Regions from separate parts of the Homo sapiens genome. Here regions 1, 2, 3, 5, 6 and 7 are each linked to region 4. The links are contacts of gene promoters, found by promoter capture Hi-C in blood cells and fetal thymus (Javierre and others, 2016). All regions are on one chromosome and are shown on one strand. The core of a region is centred on a gene start or on the middle of the fragment in contact, and the rest is flanking DNA. Distances in the headings are between cores, read along the strand shown.

Evidence for each region. Contacts are between HindIII fragments. The CHiCAGO score rates a contact against its expected background, and 5 or more counts as called.
Region 1: a contact is called between a fragment that was not itself captured here and the fragment with the promoter of HOOK1 in region 4, in 11 of 17 cell types (total B cells, M2 macrophages, naive B cells and 8 more). The highest score is 13.7, in total B cells.
Region 2: a contact is called between the fragment with the promoter of PATJ here and the fragment with the promoter of HOOK1 in region 4, in 8 of 17 cell types (non-activated CD4 T cells, activated CD4 T cells, naive CD4 T cells and 5 more). The highest score is 12.1, in non-activated CD4 T cells.
Region 3: a contact is called between a fragment that was not itself captured here and the fragment with the promoter of HOOK1 in region 4, in 7 of 17 cell types (naive CD4 T cells, total CD4 T cells, naive CD8 T cells and 4 more). The highest score is 13.3, in naive CD4 T cells.
Region 5: a contact is called between a fragment that was not itself captured here and the fragment with the promoter of HOOK1 in region 4, in 9 of 17 cell types (non-activated CD4 T cells, total CD8 T cells, total CD4 T cells and 6 more). The highest score is 18.4, in non-activated CD4 T cells.
Region 6: a fragment that was not itself captured here is called in contact with the fragment with the promoter of HOOK1 in region 4 in 6 of 17 cell types (non-activated CD4 T cells, naive CD4 T cells, naive B cells and 3 more); the score reaches 10.4 in non-activated CD4 T cells.
Region 7: a fragment that was not itself captured here is called in contact with the fragment with the promoter of HOOK1 in region 4 in 2 of 17 cell types (M2 macrophages and monocytes); the score reaches 8.2 in M2 macrophages.

The regions. Positions count from the first base shown.
Region 1 is chr1:58,495,371-58,498,070 of GRCh38, forward strand. All of the region lies in intron 8 of OMA1 (OMA1 zinc metallopeptidase), which reads right to left. It also overlaps a transcript of DAB1 not described here. Among named protein-coding and RNA genes, the nearest start is that of OMA1, 50 kb to the right of the region's middle. The HindIII fragment of the contact is 533 bases long and covers 1,157-1,689 here.
Region 2 is chr1:61,741,230-61,743,929 of GRCh38, forward strand. It overlaps PATJ (PATJ crumbs cell polarity complex component), which reads left to right and starts at 1,251. Exons shown (of 44, transcript NM_001350145.3): 1 at 1,251-1,326. It overlaps PATJ-DT (PATJ divergent transcript), which reads right to left and starts at 1,555. Exons shown (of 1, transcript NR_185910.1): 1 at 769-1,555. RefSeq lists a silencer at 1,003-1,712. The HindIII fragment of the contact is 6,850 bases long and covers 1-2,700 here.
Region 3 is chr1:58,519,658-58,522,398 of GRCh38, forward strand. All of the region lies in intron 7 of OMA1 (OMA1 zinc metallopeptidase), which reads right to left. It also overlaps a transcript of DAB1 not described here. Among named protein-coding and RNA genes, the nearest start is that of OMA1, 26 kb to the right of the region's middle. The HindIII fragment of the contact is 3,020 bases long and covers 1-2,741 here.
Region 4 is chr1:59,813,521-59,816,265 of GRCh38, forward strand. It overlaps HOOK1 (hook microtubule tethering protein 1), which reads left to right and starts at 1,429. Exons shown (of 22, transcript NM_015888.6): 1 at 1,429-1,660. The coding sequence starts at 1,598. LOC105378758 (a long non-coding RNA gene) reads right to left here and starts at 1,346. Exons shown (of 5, transcript XR_947426.3): 1 at 1,242-1,346. RefSeq lists a silencer at 897-1,496 and an enhancer at 1,733-2,296. The HindIII fragment of the contact is 6,303 bases long and covers 1-2,745 here.
Region 5 is chr1:58,541,523-58,544,293 of GRCh38, forward strand. The region is part of intron 1 of OMA1 (OMA1 zinc metallopeptidase); the gene reads right to left. It also overlaps a transcript of DAB1 not described here. Among named protein-coding and RNA genes, the nearest start is that of OMA1, 3.8 kb to the right of the region's middle. The HindIII fragment of the contact is 261 bases long and covers 1,199-1,459 here.
Region 6 is chr1:58,557,756-58,560,746 of GRCh38, forward strand. No RefSeq gene overlaps it. Among named protein-coding and RNA genes, the nearest start is that of OMA1, 13 kb to the left of the region's middle. The HindIII fragment of the contact is 3,173 bases long and covers 1-2,991 here.
Region 7 is chr1:58,478,971-58,481,936 of GRCh38, forward strand. OMA1 (OMA1 zinc metallopeptidase) reads right to left here. Exons shown (of 9, transcript NM_145243.5): 9 at 1,749-2,204. The coding sequence ends at 1,995. It also overlaps a transcript of DAB1 not described here. Among named protein-coding and RNA genes, the nearest start is that of OMA1, 66 kb to the right of the region's middle. The HindIII fragment of the contact is 6,288 bases long and covers 1-2,966 here.

The sequences.
Region 1 (2,700 bases), core at 173-2,672, 1.3 Mb before region 4:
TAACACACCTGCATGTTGTGCACATGTACCCTAAAACTTAAAGTATAATAATAATAATAATACATTCCTTTTTTTAGGATTTAGTTTCTCATGCCACTTAAATTTTATTTTTCATATTATTCAGCTGAATTTTTTGGTAGTTCCTTACTTGATCTGTGGTTTTCTAACAATGGCAGGGTGCAAGCTAGTTACAATTATATTTAAACAAACAAAACTGTATATTTTATCTAATTCCTGATTGTCAGTAGATTCTGGAAAGAGCACTGTTGCAACCAAGAACTTCACTGACATATTGTCCTATGTGTTTCATTTGCTAAGGATCTTCCACCATAAAAAAAAAAAAAGTTAGTTTTTGTAGATATCATACCAAAGTGTATTAGTTCCACTGTTTTTTGTTTTGTTTCTTTCCTCCAAAACTCTTACACTTCCTCCAACAGCAAGAAGTATAAGAACTTAGGAGGAAAGAAATATCTTCCTTATGCTTATGAAAAGAAAGGTCCAGAGTCATTCTTACTCTTGTATGCCTTTTTACCTAGGTAGCTTGTAAAAGCCTGTCTTTGCAATGAAGATTAAACACTTCATAAGTTTAAATATCTAAGCTTGTCATTTCAGGGCTTCCCATGGATGATACTCTGGGAATCTCCTAAAAACCCATCTTGAGAAATGTTAACTAAATAAAAAAATATGATATAGAAACCACAATCAAAGAAATGAAGACATGTACAAATGTATCTTTCCCATTGTTATATGCAGCTTGGATTTCCTGGTGCCTTTTCAATATTCTTTCATTTTTTTAGACTTTTTTTTTTTGGCTTTGGGCATTTTAATTTGGTTGTGCTATGTTCCTCTATCTTCCGCATCAATGAGTCTTTGCTCTGAGGTATCAATTCTGCTCTTTACAGCCTCCACCGAAAGTTTTACAGCTTCTCTGTTGAATTCACAAGTTTAACAATTTTCTGAAATGGATTTATCTTACATTTGTAAAGTCGTTCTTTCAGATTCTGTCACTTTCAGTGCAGTTAAATCAACCTTATCATGCCAGCTTCAGGTGGCACTGCTTCTATGTTCTTGCCGCCTTGCCTGTCCTCTCCCATAAAGTAACATTTTTAAGTTTGACTTGAGATTTGGTTTTGTTTTTCGTATTTCTGCTCTTTAAAGCTTATCTCACTGGGGAACAATGAGCATTTCAGAGGCTTTGTTTTGTTGCTATTGCTGAATTTTGTTTACATGAGGGTCCTTGTGGAGTTATTAAAGGCACTTAGACATTCAATAATCTTTTAAATAAGATTATCCTCATTTTTCCTTTCAACTCTGTTTTTCCAACTCTTGTACACTTACCGTTCTGATTTTTTAAAAGTCTCTCTTACCTACCTCTTAAGTCTATTCCTGAATAAGATAAAAGTGTCTGCAACATCTTTTATTCCATTAGGGTTAATTTGGCTGGTCTGAGTTCTAAATAGATTCTACATAGATTTCTCGTGAAGACACATTTCTCAGGTTGTTTGAAAACTGATTATTTGCAGGGTGGTGCTAAATTATCACCCCACAATCACTTGCTGGCCACAAGGAAGAAAACCACCTTTGCAAACAAAGAACCAGGCCATCACCATCCAACCCACTGATGGCCTTCAGCATCACCAGATGTGGGGCAGCCAGGTATTAAGAGACTTCCAATGCAAAGCACTATGAAGCTTAGTTGCATCACCTATAAAATATCCTTCCCAAAATTTAATCTCTATTTACAGGTATATATAGAAACAAGTTAGAAATACCACGAAGAAGCAATCAAGTTAATCCAGAATCTACAATGTGGGATTATATGTACTCACCAATTCAATGACAAGTTTTAAAACAAACAAAACAAAAGGGAGGGGGGTACTGTCCTAAAGTCAAAAGGACTTTAGGGACGTAAGGACCAAATGCAATGTGTGGATCATGAAGTATCCTAATTTAAACAGGCCAACTGTAACACTGCTGAGATACAGAAATCTGATGTAGACAGAATATTTAATTTTAAGGAATTACTATGAGTTTCCTTAGGCATGATAATGTTATGATTATGGAAGAAAATGATACTACTTTCTGAAATGCATACTAAAGTTGATGGAGTTCAGGACATATCATTCCAAAATAAGACTCCAGGAGACCAGACTATGCCACCCCAAATATGCCTCTTTAGCATAAGAGTTATTTTCTACTAATTATTTTGGGCAATAGCAGACATAGGGGAAGTTCTGAAAACAGGAAGAAGAAGTTACCGTTTTCTCAGAGAAATATGTATCTACGAAGGAAATCTCTAATTTGCAAGTATGTCTCCCTCTCTGTACCAGAAAGAGAAGGATGACTCTAAATCACTGGAAACTCTTATCAACAAAGAAGGTACAATCTACATAACAAACCTTACCCTTGCTCACTGCTTTTCCTGACCACCTCTCTACAACGTGGCGGCTTTCCCTGCACCTTTCTGTCTTAGTTTCAGTTGAAGATGGTATTTACACCTGAACTCAAAGCCACCTCTTGGAGAATTATTCATTCCATGGGTATCTCCCAGGTATACAGGAAGTATACATGTTAAAAAGCTTCCATTTCCCTCTTGTTAATCTGTCTTTTAATACAGGGGTTCATCTCAACTAAGAACTATGAAGCATAGAGAGAAAATTATTTTCTCCTCCCCTATAAGGCCCTGATATCTGGGCTTTA
Region 2 (2,700 bases), core at 1-2,500, 1.9 Mb after region 4:
GTCTCTCTCTGTCACCCAGGCTGGAGTGCAGTGGCAGGATCTTGGCTCACTGCAACCTCTGCCTCCTGGGTTCAAGTGATTCTCCTGCCTCAGCCTCCTGCGTAGAGGGGACTACGCATCCACCACACCCGGCTAATTTTTGTATTTGTAGTAGAGACGGGGTTTCATCATATTGGTCAGGCTGGTCTCGAACTCCTGACCTCGGGTGATCCACCCGCCTCGGCCTTCCAAAGTACTGGGATTACAAGCGTGAGCCACCGCGCCCCGCCTGAAAGTCTTTATGTTGTAGTTGTTTTGTATCTATTCCTCATCTTCCTGGGGACAGGGATACCATTTTACACATCTTCCCACAATCAATCACAGTGTTTAACAATTACTGTATGTACTCTATGAATAAGATACCTGAAGATTGATTCTCTTTATCGTTAATGTGTGGACTGTATCAGGCAAAGTAAAACCCCTATCATCAAAAGCCTAAAGTTATTAAAGGGAGTGGAAGAAGGCTATCGGGACATATTTTTCTCGAAGGTGTGACATCACAAATAAAAGAAAATTAACGTATAGTGAAATCATCACTGTAGTTAGAGTCAAAATGCCTTGCCTGTGTTCCAAACTTTGGGCCAGTCAACCTACAGGGTGCACGGTTTCCTCATTAGTTTCTTCAGAGAGTAAATGAGACATTGCATAAGCTAGCACCTAGCATACAGCAGGCAAATACTGCTGGATTTCTTTCTTCCACTAAATGAGAAGAAAATAATGACTCCCACATTTACACGTTTTAGAATATTTTATTTTGCGTCAGCGAATAGAGAAAACAAAGGAGGGATGAGAGAACAGGAAAGGAAAGGGGCAAAAAGACAAAGTGTTAAGCGGATTGACCCAACGCTTTCATCGATATCCTCCTCAATTTCCTTGATCTTGGGTCTCGCTCTACACGCAGGCCTCCAACCACACCGGTCTGTCCGGATCTCCCTCCCCGTCAGTGGCGGCTGTCCCCACCACGCGCGGTCTGATCCGCCACCCCGCCCCCACAGCCCACTTTTCCCAGGCCCTTGGCCATCCCGCGCCCGGTAGGAATTCACCTGCACGTAAACAGCCAGGGCAACCGTCCTCCCTCCTTGGAGCCCGCCTCCCGCGGCCCCGGGCTCCCTCCCCCGCCCCCTGCGCCACCCCGGTGCCCCGCCCCGGGCGGGGAGAGTCGGGGCGAGGGGAGGGCCTGCCAGGTGAGGCGCGGTCACCCTGGGCCTCTCACTTCCGCCCAGGTGAGGCAGGGCCGACACCGAGCCCGCCCGACCCGGGCTCCCACCTGCTCCTCCAGCGCACCAGGTAAAGCGTGAGGTCCCGGCTGTGCAGTGCGCGCTCGCCCCTGGGTGTCCCCGCGCCTGGAGGCCGGCCGGGGGCAGCTCCCTCGGGGCTTCCCGGGCCTGCCTGCCCTGCCCCCGCGCTCTCCCCGCCCGCCCGCCTGGAGTGGGTGGGAGCCGGAGGTGGAGGGCGCCGCCGGGCGCTCAGAGGGGCCGCGGCGAGGATGGGGCGCCCGCGGCGTGCGTCCGCGCTGACCCGGGAGGCGGGGCGGGGGCGCCGTCCTCCTGCGTCGGGCCCGGGTGACCCCACGGTGGTCCCCGCCCCGCCGCGCAGGGCTCGCCGAGGCCGCGGGCAGGGAGGGGCGCCGCCCCGCCTCCCCAGGCCTTTCGGGCCTCGAATCTCGGCCCACTGGTATTCGGGGGTGGCACGGATCCTATTTTGCGCCCAGATCGGTGCCCCTGTTTCGCTCCCAGAGCTGGGCGGAGTCTTTCCCTCCATCGGTGGCCGTGGAAGGAGGGAACGGGGTGAGGGGACAAAGAGGAGGGGGTGCTCAGAGCCGGGCTGAGGGGGCGACTTGGGCCCGGCCGCGTCGCGGCGCCTGGTCATCCCGTAGCGGAGGTTCCCAAGCCAGCGGTCAGGCCCTGGGCTCTGCCAGCCTTGCTGCGTAGATGGGGAGGTTCTGTCGGAAAGTGCTTCCAGCCTTAGGGGAAATTCCTGGACTCCTGCTTTTAAATCAAGCTCAGGAAAGCATTTTCAGATCACTCCCACTCTCCAAAGCGCCCCAGCCGTCCCGCACGCAGGCCGAATTAAGTGAACACCCCTTCACTTGGCACTTTGTCATATTTCCAAGTGGCTCTTGTCACTTTGAATTCCAGTTGGTTGTTTACTGGCTTGCCTCTGCCATTTAGAGGGTGCCCCTTTCAGGGCCTTATTTTTCGACTGCATTTAGGGTCTGGCTATTGGTAGGTGCGCGACAAGTGTTTCTTAAAGGAAGGCAGAAGCCTTTGGAAACCCAGAAGGACAATGTCGGTTCCACTGAGGATGATACTACCACATTCTGGGCTAAATTCCTATTGGCTGCAAATTAATTTGCACACATCTATTTGAAAGGAGTGGAGGCAGGGGCAGCGGTTAAAAACTTAAATCTGTTTGCAGCATTAGAAAATGTTAGGTGAGATTGAGCCTTTTAGCTAAAGTGAGCTTTGATGTTTTTAGGGCCCCTAATGGCCTTTAAGATGTTAACAATAACAACAACAACAAAACACTCCAAATGTGTTGAATTTATTTGGGAATGAGAAATGAGCGTTATAGCCCGAGGTGCACAGGCCTGGCAAGCCATATATGCATGGAAGAGGGGAGGGTAAAAGGAAACTTTTATTGGCAAAGTAAGTGCAGATA
Region 3 (2,741 bases), core at 29-2,528, 1.3 Mb before region 4:
CCAACAAACAAGACCAAAGCCAAAAACAGACAACAGAAACGGACCCAGCTATAATACAGAGATTAGAGTTAAGAAACATGAATTTTTAAAAAAATATATGATTAACATATTCAAGAAAATATAAACAAAGAAACATATGACAAAATGGAGAATTTCACCAGAGAAGTGAAATTTATAAAAGAGCATCAAAGGGATATTCTGGAATGAAAAGACAAAGTAACTGAAATTTAAAACTCAAATACGAATTTAATGTAGAACAAATACAGCTAAAAATAAGATTAATGAACTTCAAGATAGGTAGTGGAAAACACATTCTGATACATGGACAGTCAGAGGTTAAGTGATTAGCCTATTGCATGTTCTCACTCATAAGGGGGAGCTAAACATTGACTACACATGGACACAAAGATGGGAACAACAGACACTGGCAACTACCAGAGGGAAGGGGGAAGGAGGGGAGCAAGGGTTGAAAAACCACCTTTTGGGTACCATGCTCACTACCTCGGGGAGAGGATCATTTGTACACCAAATCTTAGCAACGTGCAATTTACCCACGTAACAGACCTGCACGTGTACCCTGGAACCTAAACGTTGAAAAAAATAAAAAATAAAAGAGCAAGCCACAGAATGAAAGAAAACACTTGCAAGACACATATCTGACAAAGAACTTGCACCTAGCACTTATGTGAAAAACTCCTACAACTCAAGAATAAGAACACAAACTTCCTTGCCCAATTTGAAAATGGGAAAAATATCTGAGAAGATAATTCACAAAGGAATATAAATGAAGTGCCAATAGACACATAAAAATGTTCCACATTATATAAATAATTACAAATAAGAAATGCAAATTAAACAAATAGACTAACTTTTCCCCAAAAAAGGGCAAAGATAAAAACAACAGCAATGTTCTGTTTACAAGGGCTACACACACAAGAACACAGGAGGTTTGAAAATCAGAATATTAAAGATTTACCATGCAAGCACTAACTGAAAGAAAGCTGAAATAACAATACTAAAAGGAAAAAGTGGACATTAGGCAAGAAGTATTACTAGAGACAGTGATTTTATTGCAAGAAAAGGACCAATCCACTAGGAAAATCTAACAATCTAACAAGTATGTATATTAAAGATACTTTTAAGATGTACACGGCAAAAATTAATAGCCCTAAAAGGAAAAAAGAAAAATCTACAACCATAATGAAATATTACCAAACCTCTCTTGATAACTACAAAAAAAAGGAAAAAAAATCAGCAAGAATATAGAAGATCTGAAACAACAAAATTGACACACTTGGCAAAACTGACATCCACAGAACACCACCCGCAATGGCAGGATCCACTTTCAAGTGCACGTCATTTTGACAAAATTGATCACATCCTGAGCCACAAAGCAAGACCCAACCCTTTTCAAAGGATTCCAGTCATTCAGTATATTATCCAATCAGAGTGTAACTAAGCTAGAAATCGAAAACAAAAGGTAACTTTAAAATCATCAAATGTTCAAAAACTAAGCAATATACTTCTAAATAACCCATGGGTCAAAGAAGAAACCACAGCGAAAACAAGAATACATTTTAAACTGAAGAAAAAATAACATATCAACCCTTGCAACATGACAAGTAAAGATGCTCTCAGAGGAAAATGTACGGCCTTAAATGTATGTACTAGAAAAAAAAAAGAGTTTAAAATAAATGATAGTAGTATTCATCTTAAGTTAGGGAAAGAACCACATATGAAACCCAAAAAATGAATGCAGAATAAAATAATGAAAAAAAATGGTAACTGACATAACAGAAAACAATTATATAATAGAGACAATAAGCAAACCCAAAAGATGGTTTTGAAAAGATTGATGAAAGTGATAAAATCTAGCAAAAAAAAGACAAGACAAAGAGCACCAATATTAACAAAGGGGACATTTAAAAGATACATGTAAAATAACAGGTATCCTTCAGACATTAAAATATAATAAGAGTATATTAAAACAACTTCATGCCAATGATTTTGAAAATTAAACAAAAATTCCTAGAAAAACTACAAAAACTGAAACAAGAAATAGAAAAATCTGAATAGTTCTATATCTATTAAAGAGACTGAATCCATAATTAAAGACAAACTCATGAAGAAATCTTCAGGCCCATATGGCTTTACCCAGGAATTCTCCAAACGTTTAAAAAATAAATATAGCTAATCTTACAAAAACTCTTCTGGAGAAGAGAAAATGAAGAACACTTCCCTGATCAATTTTATGAGGCCAGCATAACTTTGATTCCAAAACCTGACAGGACATTACAAGAAAAGAAAATTCTAGGCGACTATCTCCTTTGAACATAGGATAAACATTCTAAACTAAGCATTAAACCAATTCTAGCAATATATTAAGGGATAATTGACAAAATTAGGTATATTTCCCCAAAAATGCAACTTAACTTTAAAAAAAATTAATGTAATTTGCCCAATAACAGATTAAAGGAGAAAAATCATATAATCATCTCAATACAGGCAGAAAATGCAGGGGGAAGGAGAACATCAGGAAGAATAGCTAATGGATGCTGGGCTTAATACCTAGGTGATGAGTTGATCTGTGCAGCAAACCACTGTGACACATATTTATTAATGTAACAAACCTGCACATCTGCACATGTACCCTGGAACTTTAAAGTTGAAGAAAAAGTGCAGAAAATGCATTTGATAAAATTTAATATATATACATAATTTTTTTAAATCTTAGGATATTA
Region 4 (2,745 bases), core at 179-2,678:
TTCAGTGTCTAAATATAAAAACGCAGCAATATAAAAAAAAGCCAGCTGTTTTCTTACTCAGAGCATGAATTGATGAGTTTATGAATGAGTGAAGTGACAGCAAGACTAAGAATAGTCTAGCCCTTTTCAATCACCTAAGCCATCTATCAATACCTTGGAGAGCTTCCAATTTCAGGTCACCTCCCCCGACCCCCCTCCACCCCACAACATTCTCGGAAAAAGCAAATTTTCAACTGACAAAGGAAAATGGATACATTAATATCTTCCATGTTTTTCAAAACATTTCGTTTATTTTGCTACTTGAAAACGGTCTTCCCTTTTGCCCCATGTAAAATAAAATTGCTCATGATCTATGGTCCCGTGAGAGCTTATTTAAGGAGCACTGACGGATTCTATTTTCCTTATTAATGTGGCATATTTGCCACGTGTGCAAATGAAAACATCCCTTTCCAATGAGTGCCTAGGAGGAAATCAGCTCTTCCTTCCTCGAAGAGTTTTAATTCATGGGTATGATCTATTTCTTTCTTTCTTTATTTTGTTTTATATATTTTTTAGAGACAGAGTCTCGGTTTTTTGTCCAGGCTGGGGTGCAGTGGCATGATCTCGGCTCACTGCAACCTGTGCCTCCCGGGTTCAAGCGATTCTTCTGCCTCAGCCTCCTGAGTAGCTGGGATTACAGTCATGTGCCACCACCCCCGGCTAATCTTTGTATTTTTAGTAGAGAATGGGTTTCGCCATCTTGGCCTGGCGGGTCTCGAACTCCTGACCTCAGGTGATCCACCCGCCTCAGCCTCCCAAAGTGCTAGGATTACAGGCGTGAGCCACCTCGCCCAGCCGGTAGGATCTATTTCTGAAGACAATGTGGAAGCAGAGTGTGGGCCCTCCACAGGTGTAGCGAGGCGGCGTGCTACCGCGAAGAAGGAGGGAAGACGCCTGAGCCCAGCCGGTGCCCTGCTGCCCCTCTGCCTCTTCGGCCACTGGGGCTGAGCTTCAGCCTTACCAATCCCCGCCGCGCACGCGCGCTCGCTTCCCGCGCGCAACCTCCCACCCCCGCCCTCACTGCACCTGCCAGGTCATAAACCTCTTCCCACCCACTCTCACTCTCTACCCAAGGCTCAGGCTTGTCTCACGTTGATTGGCCAGAGCCCACGAGGGCACGTCCAATCAGCAATCCCCCCTGCGCAACCTATCCCGGTTCTTCCCGCCCCCGCCCCGCCCCGCCCGCCCCCCCGGGTACCTACCGTCTCTGTGACTGGTGCGCGGCCAGGTCACTCAGGGCGGCGGGGCGAGGTGTGCGGGAGTGGGCAGGACGGGTGGGAGGAGGGGAGGGGTGGGAGAAGGCGGGGCTCAGGTGCCTGGCAGCGCGGCCGGGGCCCAGGAAGGGGAGGGGGCGAACGCTGGAGCGAGGCGGGGGCGGGTGAGGAGGGGGTGACGCCGGACGCGTCGACAGCGCGAGGGTTCGCGCGTGAGCTGCGCGGGTCGGGCCTGGTACCGAGCTTTCCTGGGGGCTAGCAGGTCGTGGACGCCGGCTCCTGGAGGAGAGCCGGTAGGAGGGAGTGTGAAGGTGTCCGCGGCGTCGTCGACGGCGGCGCCGGCCATGGAGGAGACGCAGCCGCCGCCGCAGCCTAAGCTGCCCCTGTGCGACAGCCTCATGATCTGGGTGAGTGCGAGGAGGCGAGAGGGCGAGGGGGCCAGGGGGCCGAGGCGAGGAGCCTGGGGCGCCCGGTTCTCCCAGGTGAGCTGGGGCTACCTGCACAGGGTCCCGGCGCACCCTGCCCTTCTCACCTCGTGCCCTTGACCGAGAGAATGCCACCTGCGGGTCGACGGGCAGGTGTGTGGGCGCGGGTTGGTGTCCGGGGGTGGGGGTAAAGGAAGCTCTGGGAGCGTAACAGTGGAGGCTCTGGTCTCAACCAGAGGATTCGACCTGCCTGGTGCCCTAACAGCTGGGATATGAACCAAGCACCCATCCTCTTTTCTCCCCGCTGCCCCATTTTCTCCCCCTGAACAGCGCCCGAGCCCTCCACTTTCTGGATCGCCGACTCTCTTGCCTTGGTCCGCTTGGGCGTGAAGACCCTTTCCGAAACCTAACCCTGCATCCTCAAACTACCTTGCTCTACCTGGACACAGGTGGCCAGGAGGTGGCTGGCTGTTTTAGTTCCCGGACCAATGCTCCTTCAGGACTCTAGAACATCCGATTTTGTAGAAGCCGCTTCAAAGAGATGTTTGTATTTCCCGTATGGAGAAAAAGATGTGTTGGGAGTCGGGGGTCGTTTTCCCTTTTTCTCGCTGGCCCTCTCCTCCTCTAAATGGACAGCATTTTCTTTAAAGAAAATGAGTTGACATTTTTCTTTAGGATTTATCTGTGTTTAGGATTTTTGTTAATTTGTGTTGGGTCTGGACAGGCATATCTGTCCCCAGATTGTTCAATATTCCAGTCAGCAAAATGACATCCCACCTCTTAGAGTTACTTAGATATCAGTGCTGGCATTCAGGTGTGGTTCTTAACCCATATTGAGTAAAGATGGTGTTTGATGAGCCACAAGGTGCTGTTGATGATGCTCATCCCAAACCAGTTGTTTAGTTGCGTCTAGGGGAGTGTGTGCAGATGGAATGTAAACAGACGGGATCAGGAGGCTGTAATCGGTTGAGATTCCCTAGTGATCTAATGCATCTAATTCCAAAGAATGAGAAATCTAGGTTTATGGAAATGTGTGAAGCCTATTGGAAATAGCCATAATTTAAAGC
Region 5 (2,771 bases), core at 79-2,578, 1.3 Mb before region 4:
GGAGAATCACTTGAACCTGGGAGGCAAGAGACTGCAGTGAGCCAAAATTGTGCCACTACACTCCGGCGTGGGCAACAGAATGAGAACCTGTCAAAAAAAAAAAAAAAAAAAAAAAAAAACCAAAAACAAAAAACAAAAAAACCCAGATTGAGGGAATCTAAATATGAATTGAATTTCAAGTTGTTTTAGGTAATTATTATTTTCTTAGGTGATAATATTGTGGTTATCTGACTATTTTATTCCTGAGATACTTGCTGAAGGATCTGTTCATGATAAATAAAACTCACTTTCAAATTGTACAGCAAAGGTACACACACAAAGGACATAAAGTCAATAAACAAAATATCAGCAATCATTGTATCTCAGTGATAGTTACATATGTGTTCCTTAAATTTTTCTGCATGTTTCAAAATCTTCATATAAAAGTTGGGGAAAAAAATATGTAAACTTCAACCTAAGCTAATACGATATTATCTAGAAAGATGCTCCAGGACTACCAGTTTTAATAGTATTATCTATATATCAAACCATTTGAAAATTACTCAAATTTATTTTTTATGTAATTCATACATCCTGCCCTTGCACTGTTAATGTATAATGTTAATAAAGGGCATGCTAAGTAAAACATTAACTTTGAGTTAACCCTTTTTGAAATACAACCAATTTTAAATTAGTAAAGTCCAGGCTGATATATAATAGTTTGACATTATTAACAAGATACTTTGTTTTTACTTTTTTGAACCAAGCTGAAAAATTGTTAAATAATTTAAGCCTAGAAGTCATTTCACAATTCATACTGGAGTAGCTAGTAAGGTTTTCATTGGCTAGGGGCCATGAGAGTTATGCAGCACAGAATATAGTCCTGCTCTCATGGAGGTTATAATCTAGTTGGGGAGACAAAACTGAACCTAAGTAAGACTATTAGGGGATAATAAAATTCAGTTATTAAATACTACATACTGTATGCATTCTTAAAAAGACATCCATGAGTAGCTGAAGAGTTCAGGAAGGCAGCAATTATTTTTCATGCCATTTAGGCAGATGCAGAAAGACAAAAAAAAATGGAAAGAACTGTTTTAAATGGGAAAGTGTTTTAAGGTTTAAATGTAAAGTCTTCTTCTAGAAGTCAAACTGCAAAAACAACCCAAGCCCACTTTCTTTCCTTGACCTCAAATCTGATGATTTACTGTAGTAGATAAGCTTCAGACACTTGCCCAAGCACAAGTCCTTTTCCAAATGTGCATCTTACAGCCTCATTTTAGGGGACAGGCTTAGACGGCCACATTCATCCCTAGCAACCCCTACCATTAGCTACAGAGCTAGGAGTAGGTATTTGATACTGAAAAGATTTTACATAAAACAGTATTCCGCACAGGAATATAAGGGCATGTGTAAGTTGGGTCTACAGCGGGTGCTATGGCTAAACAAAGCAATATGAAAGCAAGAACTACAAACAAAAAGCTTTTTTAAAAAAAAAAAAGTGGATCCACAGAAAAGACAATGGACTATTAAGTGTAGACAGAAGATAAGTGAGAGACCACAAAGCCAGAGTGAATATGAGAGAATAAGACCTCCCTGATTCCCATGAAACCATTGTACTTCCTACACTTAATTGAGCTTCATGAGCTTTTACTTTATCCCCAAAATAATGCGCTTTCTTCAATGAGTTTCTGTATTCTGCAAATAAATGATCTCTAAGACGTTTACATGGTATAAAACAGTTATACATTTGTTTTTGTAAATTGACAGCATTTTAATATTATACATGTTGTTTACTGGAACTAGCTGAGGGTTCCTCCTACACTTTGCAAAGCCAAATTTACCAATTTTCAACATTTAATCAGTTCCAGAAATACTGGATTATCTCTACAGCAACTTTAGCATCCAAAATATCTCAGCCCACATTAAATCAGTCATGTCAATTCTACCTCCTTCTTATCTCATTCTAGCCTTTCCTGGGCTCTGTGGTCTTATGGTGTTGATCACTACCCACCTAATCTCCCTGCCTTATTTCACCACTAACCCCTCCCACTACAGTTTGACCCCAAACTAGAGCTAAAGCATTATTTCTAAAATGCAAACCCTGGCAACAGAATCCTACCCCGACAATTAACATACAGTCCTACCCTGGTAAATACCAGGTAATCATTTAAAAAATGACATGATGATCTGTAAATCTTTAAAAGATTTAAAAGATAGCAATCTCTGGCAAAGGGATATACAAATTTAAAAATAATAATAAATGCTACCTAAAAACTTCTGTATAACAGAGGTGGCAAACTCAAACGTCTAAAGAAGCACCATACAACAGACCTTTCTACAATGATAAAAATGTTCATGTCTGCACTGTCCAATAAGGTAGCCCCTACATGTGGCTACTGAGCATTTGAAATGTGACTGGTGCATCTGAGGAATGAAATTTTTAACTCAGTTAAATGGCCATATGTGGCTAGTGTCTACTGTATCGCACAGTACAGGTTTGTAGGGTCCAGGCAAGTGAATATCAGCAAAGTGATACTGATGTGAATGCAGATTCATGACCATCTAAAGGAGGTGCAAACAGTTATGATGGAATTTGAACTTGCTGTGGCCAAATGATTCAAAACTTTTAAGTAAAGCCAGAATTTCAGATTTTAGGTGAAATTTATCAATTTTTAAATGTTGGCAATGAACTTAAAAAATTTTAACGACCTTAACCAAACATTCAGATTTTGTATTTTTGACCTCTGAACTGTATTATTATTCATTCATTCTGAAAATGTTTAATGAGT
Region 6 (2,991 bases), core at 174-2,673, 1.3 Mb before region 4:
CCTAACTCATTCTATAAGGCCAGCATTACCTTAATACCAAAACCAGACAAAGATATAAGAAAATAAAATATATCAGCAAATATCTTTCATGAACATAAATGCAAAATTCCTCAAAAAAATGCCACCATATTGAATACAACAATGTATAAAAGGATTCTTATAGCACGACCAAATGGGAATTATTCTAGATATTCATAGGTCAACACTTAAAAATCAATTAATGTAATTTATCACATCAGCAGGCTAAAGAAGGAAAGTCACATGATCGTATTAATACATGCAGAAAAAGCGTTTGACAAAATCCTATGTCTAGTCATAAAAACAAAAACCTCTCAGTAAACTAGGAACAGAGGGAAACTTCCTAAACTTGGTAAAGAATCTCTACAAAAAGCCTACAGCTAACGTCATACTTAATGGTGAAAAACTAGATGCTTTCCCACTAAAATCAGGAACAAGACAAGGATGTCACCTCTCACCACTGCTTTGCAACCTTGTACTAGAAGTCAAAACTAATGCAATACAATGAGAACAAGAAATGTAAGGTATATGGATTGGGAAGGAAGAAATAAAACTGTCTTTGTTGTAGATGACATGTTCATCTAAAGACAGAATCCAAAAGAATTAACCAAAAAGAGAAAAAAACCCTCCTGAAACTAATAAGCAATTAAAGCAAGGTTGCAGGATACAAGATTAATATGCAAGTCAACTACTTTCCTACATGCCAGCAATAAACAAGTGAAGTCTGAAATTAAAAACACAATACCATTTACATTAGCATCACTCAAAATGAAATACTTAGGTATAAATTTTTCTTTTTAAGTATAAGATCTATATGAGAAAAAGTGCACAATTTTAATGAAAGAAATCAAGAACTAAATAAGAGATATTCTGTTATTCATGGATGGGAAGACATAATATTGTCAGTCAGTTCTTCCCAACTTGACCTATAGAGTCAATGTAATTTCAATGAAACTCTCATCGAGTTATTTTGTGGATATTGCCAAACTAATTCTAAAAGCAAAGACGCCGGAGTAGCCAAGACAATATTAAAAGTGAACAAAATTAGAGAACTGACACTACCAGACTTCTAGACTTACTATGAAACTACAGTAATCAAGACAGTGCTGTACTGGCAAAAGAAGAGACAAATAGACCAAAGGAACAGAAAAGGGAGTCCGAGTCCAGAATTAGACCCATATAGATATAGTCAACTCATCTTTGACAAAGAAGCAAAGGTAATACAATGGAGAAAAGATAATCTTTTCAAAAAATGGTGCTGGAACAACTAGATAGCCACATACCAAAAAACAAACAAACAGAAAAAAAAAAAACGAATCTAGACACAGACCTTACACTCTTCACAAAAATTAACTAAAAATGGATTACGGATGTAAATGTAAAATGCAAAACCAAAAGACTCCATTTTGCATTGTAAAATGCAAAAGTATAAAAATAGATTTTCTCACGGTGTTGCTCCAGCCTGGGAGAAAATCTAGATGACCTTGCATTTGCCAATGACTTTTTTTTTTTTTTTTTGAGACAAAGTCTTGCTCTGTCACCCAGCCTGGAGTGCAGTGGTGGCATCTTGGCTCACTGCAAGCTCCGCCTGCCAGGTTCTTGCCATTCTCCTGCCTCAGCCTTCCGAGCAGCTGGGACTACAGGCACCTGCCACCACGCCAGGCTAAGTTTTTGTATTTTTAGTAGAGACGGGGTTTCACCGTGTTAGCCAGGATGGTCTCGATCTCCTGACCTCGTGATCCACCCTCCTTAGCCTCCCAATGTGCTGGGATTACAGGCATGAGCCACTGAGCCCAGCCAGCAATGACTTTTTAAGTGCAACACCAAAGGCATGATCTATGTAAAAAACAATTAATAAAATGGACTTTATTAAAATTAAAATTTTCTGCCCTGAAAAAGATACTGTCAGGAGAGTTAAAAGAAAAGTGACAGACTGGGGAAAGTATTTGCAAAAAAATACCTATTTTTAAAATGTTATTCAAAATATGTGAATAACTCTTAAAACTCAACAACATAAACACACAAAAAAATCTGATTAAAAATGGGTCAAAGACCTTAACAAATATCTCATCAAAGAAGAAATACAGATGATAAATAAGCATATAAAAAGATGCCCTACATCATATGTCACCAGGAAAATGCAAATTAAAACAACGAGATACCACTACACACCTATTAGAATGGCCAAAAGGCAGCACACTGATAACATCAAATGCTGGTGAGGCTGTGAAGCCACTGGAATTCTCATTCATTGCTGGTAAGAATGTAAAAATGGTACAGCCACTTTGAAAGACCAGCTTCTTACCAAACTAAACATACTACTTTTTATCAATGATCCAGCACTTGCACTCCCTGATAGTTACCCAAAGACATTGAAAACTTATGCCTGCACAAAAACCTACACACAGGTGTTTATAGCAGACTTAATGCCAAAACTTGGAAGCAATAAAGATGTCCTTCAGTAGGTGAGTGGATAAAAAAAGCGGCAGTACATCAAGACAATGGAATATTATGCAGCAATAAAAAGAAATAAGCTATTAAGCCATGAAAAGACATGAAAGGCTGGGTGTGGTGGCACATGCCTGTAGTCCCAGCTGCTTGAGAGGCTGAGGTGGGAGGATGACTTGAGCCCATGAGTTCAAGTCCAGCCTGGGCAATATAATGAGACCTCATCACTAAATAAAATAATAAATAAATAAATAAAGTTTTAAAAGAAAAAGGCATAGGAGAAACATAAATGCATATTACTAAATTCAAGGAGCCAATCTGAAAAGGTGACATACTGTATAATTCCAACTATATAACATTCTGGAAAAGGCAAAATTATAGAGACAATAAAAAGATCAATTGTTGCCACAAGTTAGGGTAAAGTGAAGGATGAATAGGTAGAGCCCAGAGGAATTATTTTAGGGCTGGAAAACCACTCTGTGTGATACTGCAATGGTAGATACATGTGATACATTTGTCCAAACC
Region 7 (2,966 bases), core at 62-2,561, 1.3 Mb before region 4:
CTTCTAAAGCATTGAGCTGAACTGTAACATTTCTTTTACATTTAATTCCACTGGTTAAAAAAAATCTTTTTCATATACTATAAAGATATTATCTCTGCTCTTTCTGACATGGTGTCAACTTATATATGTTTCTAGCAAGTATGAACAACACAATTAGAAGTGACAATGGGAATGGAAGAAAAAGTAGGCCGTTGCTACATTATTTTCCTAGGAAATCTGCAGGAAAATCTAATGCTGTGTTTTACTGTTTACCTTTAGGTGACATTCTCCAAGTGTCTTTATATGTTATGGAGTGCCTTTTACAATACTCCAATCACAAGGAGTGTAAAAAATGATTATATGGAGAATAGTTAATATGAACCTCTTCATGACCAATGTTGTCTCGTGTGCAGATCAGGAAATTCCTTACAAGTAATGTATAATAATCCCTGAGAAACATAAACAGCCTCTGAACTTATCTTCTTAACAACTAGATATTTTGTCCAAGAAGATTTAATAATGTCAGGACACATCCCAAATGAGATTTCACAGGCTTTCACAGGCAGGGGGAGAGGTTCTACTCTCCTACACTGCCTCATCTATGCTTTTCATGTCAATTTTGATAGAAGGGTCTGAGAGAAGAACCTATAAAATCAACCTACAGAAAACACAAGTGGTCCCTGATTTCATAATGATGAGATTTTTACTTATATTGAAGCCATATGTGGGGAAGCTAATGAACAACTGAGAATACTTTGTTCCTTGTCTTGATAGCTTAGTCTTAGATATCTGAGAGTTGTAAAAAAATGGACAGATTTGTAGTCAGATAGACTCAGCTTTGTTCTATCTAGGTGAGAGATATTGGATATATTATGTAACTTCTCGAAGCCTATTTGTCATTGTAAAGTGAGAATAATAAAACCTAGTAGGGTTATGGAATAAAGATAAATATAGGGCCCAGTTCATAGTAGATTCACAATACAAAGTAGTCCCTTTCCTCTTTAATTCTCTAAGAAAATATTTATTTAATATAATGTATTTCAAGAAAAATGCCCTTCTTAGAAATATAACCTAAGCATCACTAGACTTCACTAGTTTGGGAATACAAATATTAAATAACTCGTATTTCCACATTTATATAATGCAGCAATTTCTGGGCACCACTGGGGGTATGTCTTGTGCTGCTTCTCTTGTCGTTTTCCTCCAGTCGTCTTGTTGATATCTGCTGCTCAGGAAGGTCAACTTGGGGACAGTGCCTTGCCTCAGCCTCTTTTGAGGGACAGTGCCTTGCCTTTGCCTCTTTTTCTTCTCTGGGAACCCGAGATTCCCAAATGGTAATCTCATGGAGCAACCAAATGACATAAACTTCTGTTAAGATTTCAGTGCACCAGGAACACGCTGTATCTCTGTGGAAATGCCCTCTCCCCCAATTCTGTTTCTTGCTTTGTCATCTGAACCACAAACTGTACTTCTTTTGCCTCCCTATGAAAATGGCTTCTGCCAGTAGCATTTTCTCCAGTCATCCACAGGTGAAGACAAGGAAATTCTCTATCCTGAGGCCCCCTTTTCCACATAATCCCACCCCAATGCAAACTATTTCCTGCAAACAGATACCTTCAGACTGTTTCCCCCTTCATCATAACGACCCAGACTTAGAAATCCAGTTTAGGCTCAGTTGAAACATTCTCTACTATAAAAACTACCGTATGGGCTCATTTCTCATCCACTAGGGGTCTGCCTTCTAAATCAAAAGCAAGTAGAAGACAGAGTAAAATGTGTAATATAAATTTATTCTGTGACATTTTCCTCATTGAAGATATTTTAACATAGATTAAAATACATCAATATTTCATGAAAAATAAATTCTAGAAGAATTTAGATAATATCTGTAATGTACATGATTTGACCCTGAATATCCTTTTTTTTTTCACTTCAAACATCATTTTTTAAAAAGTAACATAAAATGATAAGGACTGCAACATTCTTCATATATCTTGTGTCTCATAAATTTTAATTCAACTGCCCGTTCTTTTCTCAACTATGTATGTTAATGGTATTTGCTCCTGTTTTTGAATAGGAAGAGTATCCATTTTCTGTTTCTTCGTGATATTTAGGTCTTCTTTCTCTGATTCTTCAAGAAAATGCTTCGTGCTGAGTTTGAATAGTAATCGAGGGTCTGGATTAGACAGTGGTGGACAATTACACATCTCTCTAATTTTGAGAGCCTATAAAGAAATAATAAAATAAAAAAATACTATATATATACATCAATGTATTCAGATTGTTTCAGTAATCCCTAATATGCTCCATGTAAAACAAAGAATGTATTGTTATTTTTTTAATAAAAGGTATCTTGATTATAACACATAAAAGAGAACCACTGAAAAATCTACAGTGAACAGTTGTTTTCATGATTTGGTCAAATAGTATTATTTTAAAAACAACAACAATAGTATTAATAATCTGTAACAACTGCCCTAATGCTGTTTTGAGGGTAAACAAATCTTAGAGATACATCTATGGTTTCAGTTAAACTCTAGCAGACCGGAGAATCATTCAGATTTAAAAAGGCTCTATGAGAGATTTTTTTCAAGAAAAACTGCAGAACATAGATGACTGAATATACTGAAAAAAGATATACATAACTGATACAGTCTTGGGTAAAATTGATGATAATAACCTAGTGATATGGTTTGCATATGTCTCCACCCAAATCTCATCTTGAATTGCAGTTCCCATAATTCCCACATGTCATGGGAGGTAACTGAATCATGGAGGTGGGTGTTTCCCGTGCTGTTCTCATGATAGTGATTAAGTCTCACGAGATCTGATGGTTTTATAAAGGGCAGTTCCCCCTGCATATGCTCTCTTGACTGCCGCCATGTAAGACATGACTTTTCTCCTCATTCGCCTTCCACCATGATTGTGAGGCCATCCTCAGCCATATGGAACTGTAAGTCAATTAAACCTCTTTCCTTCATAAATTA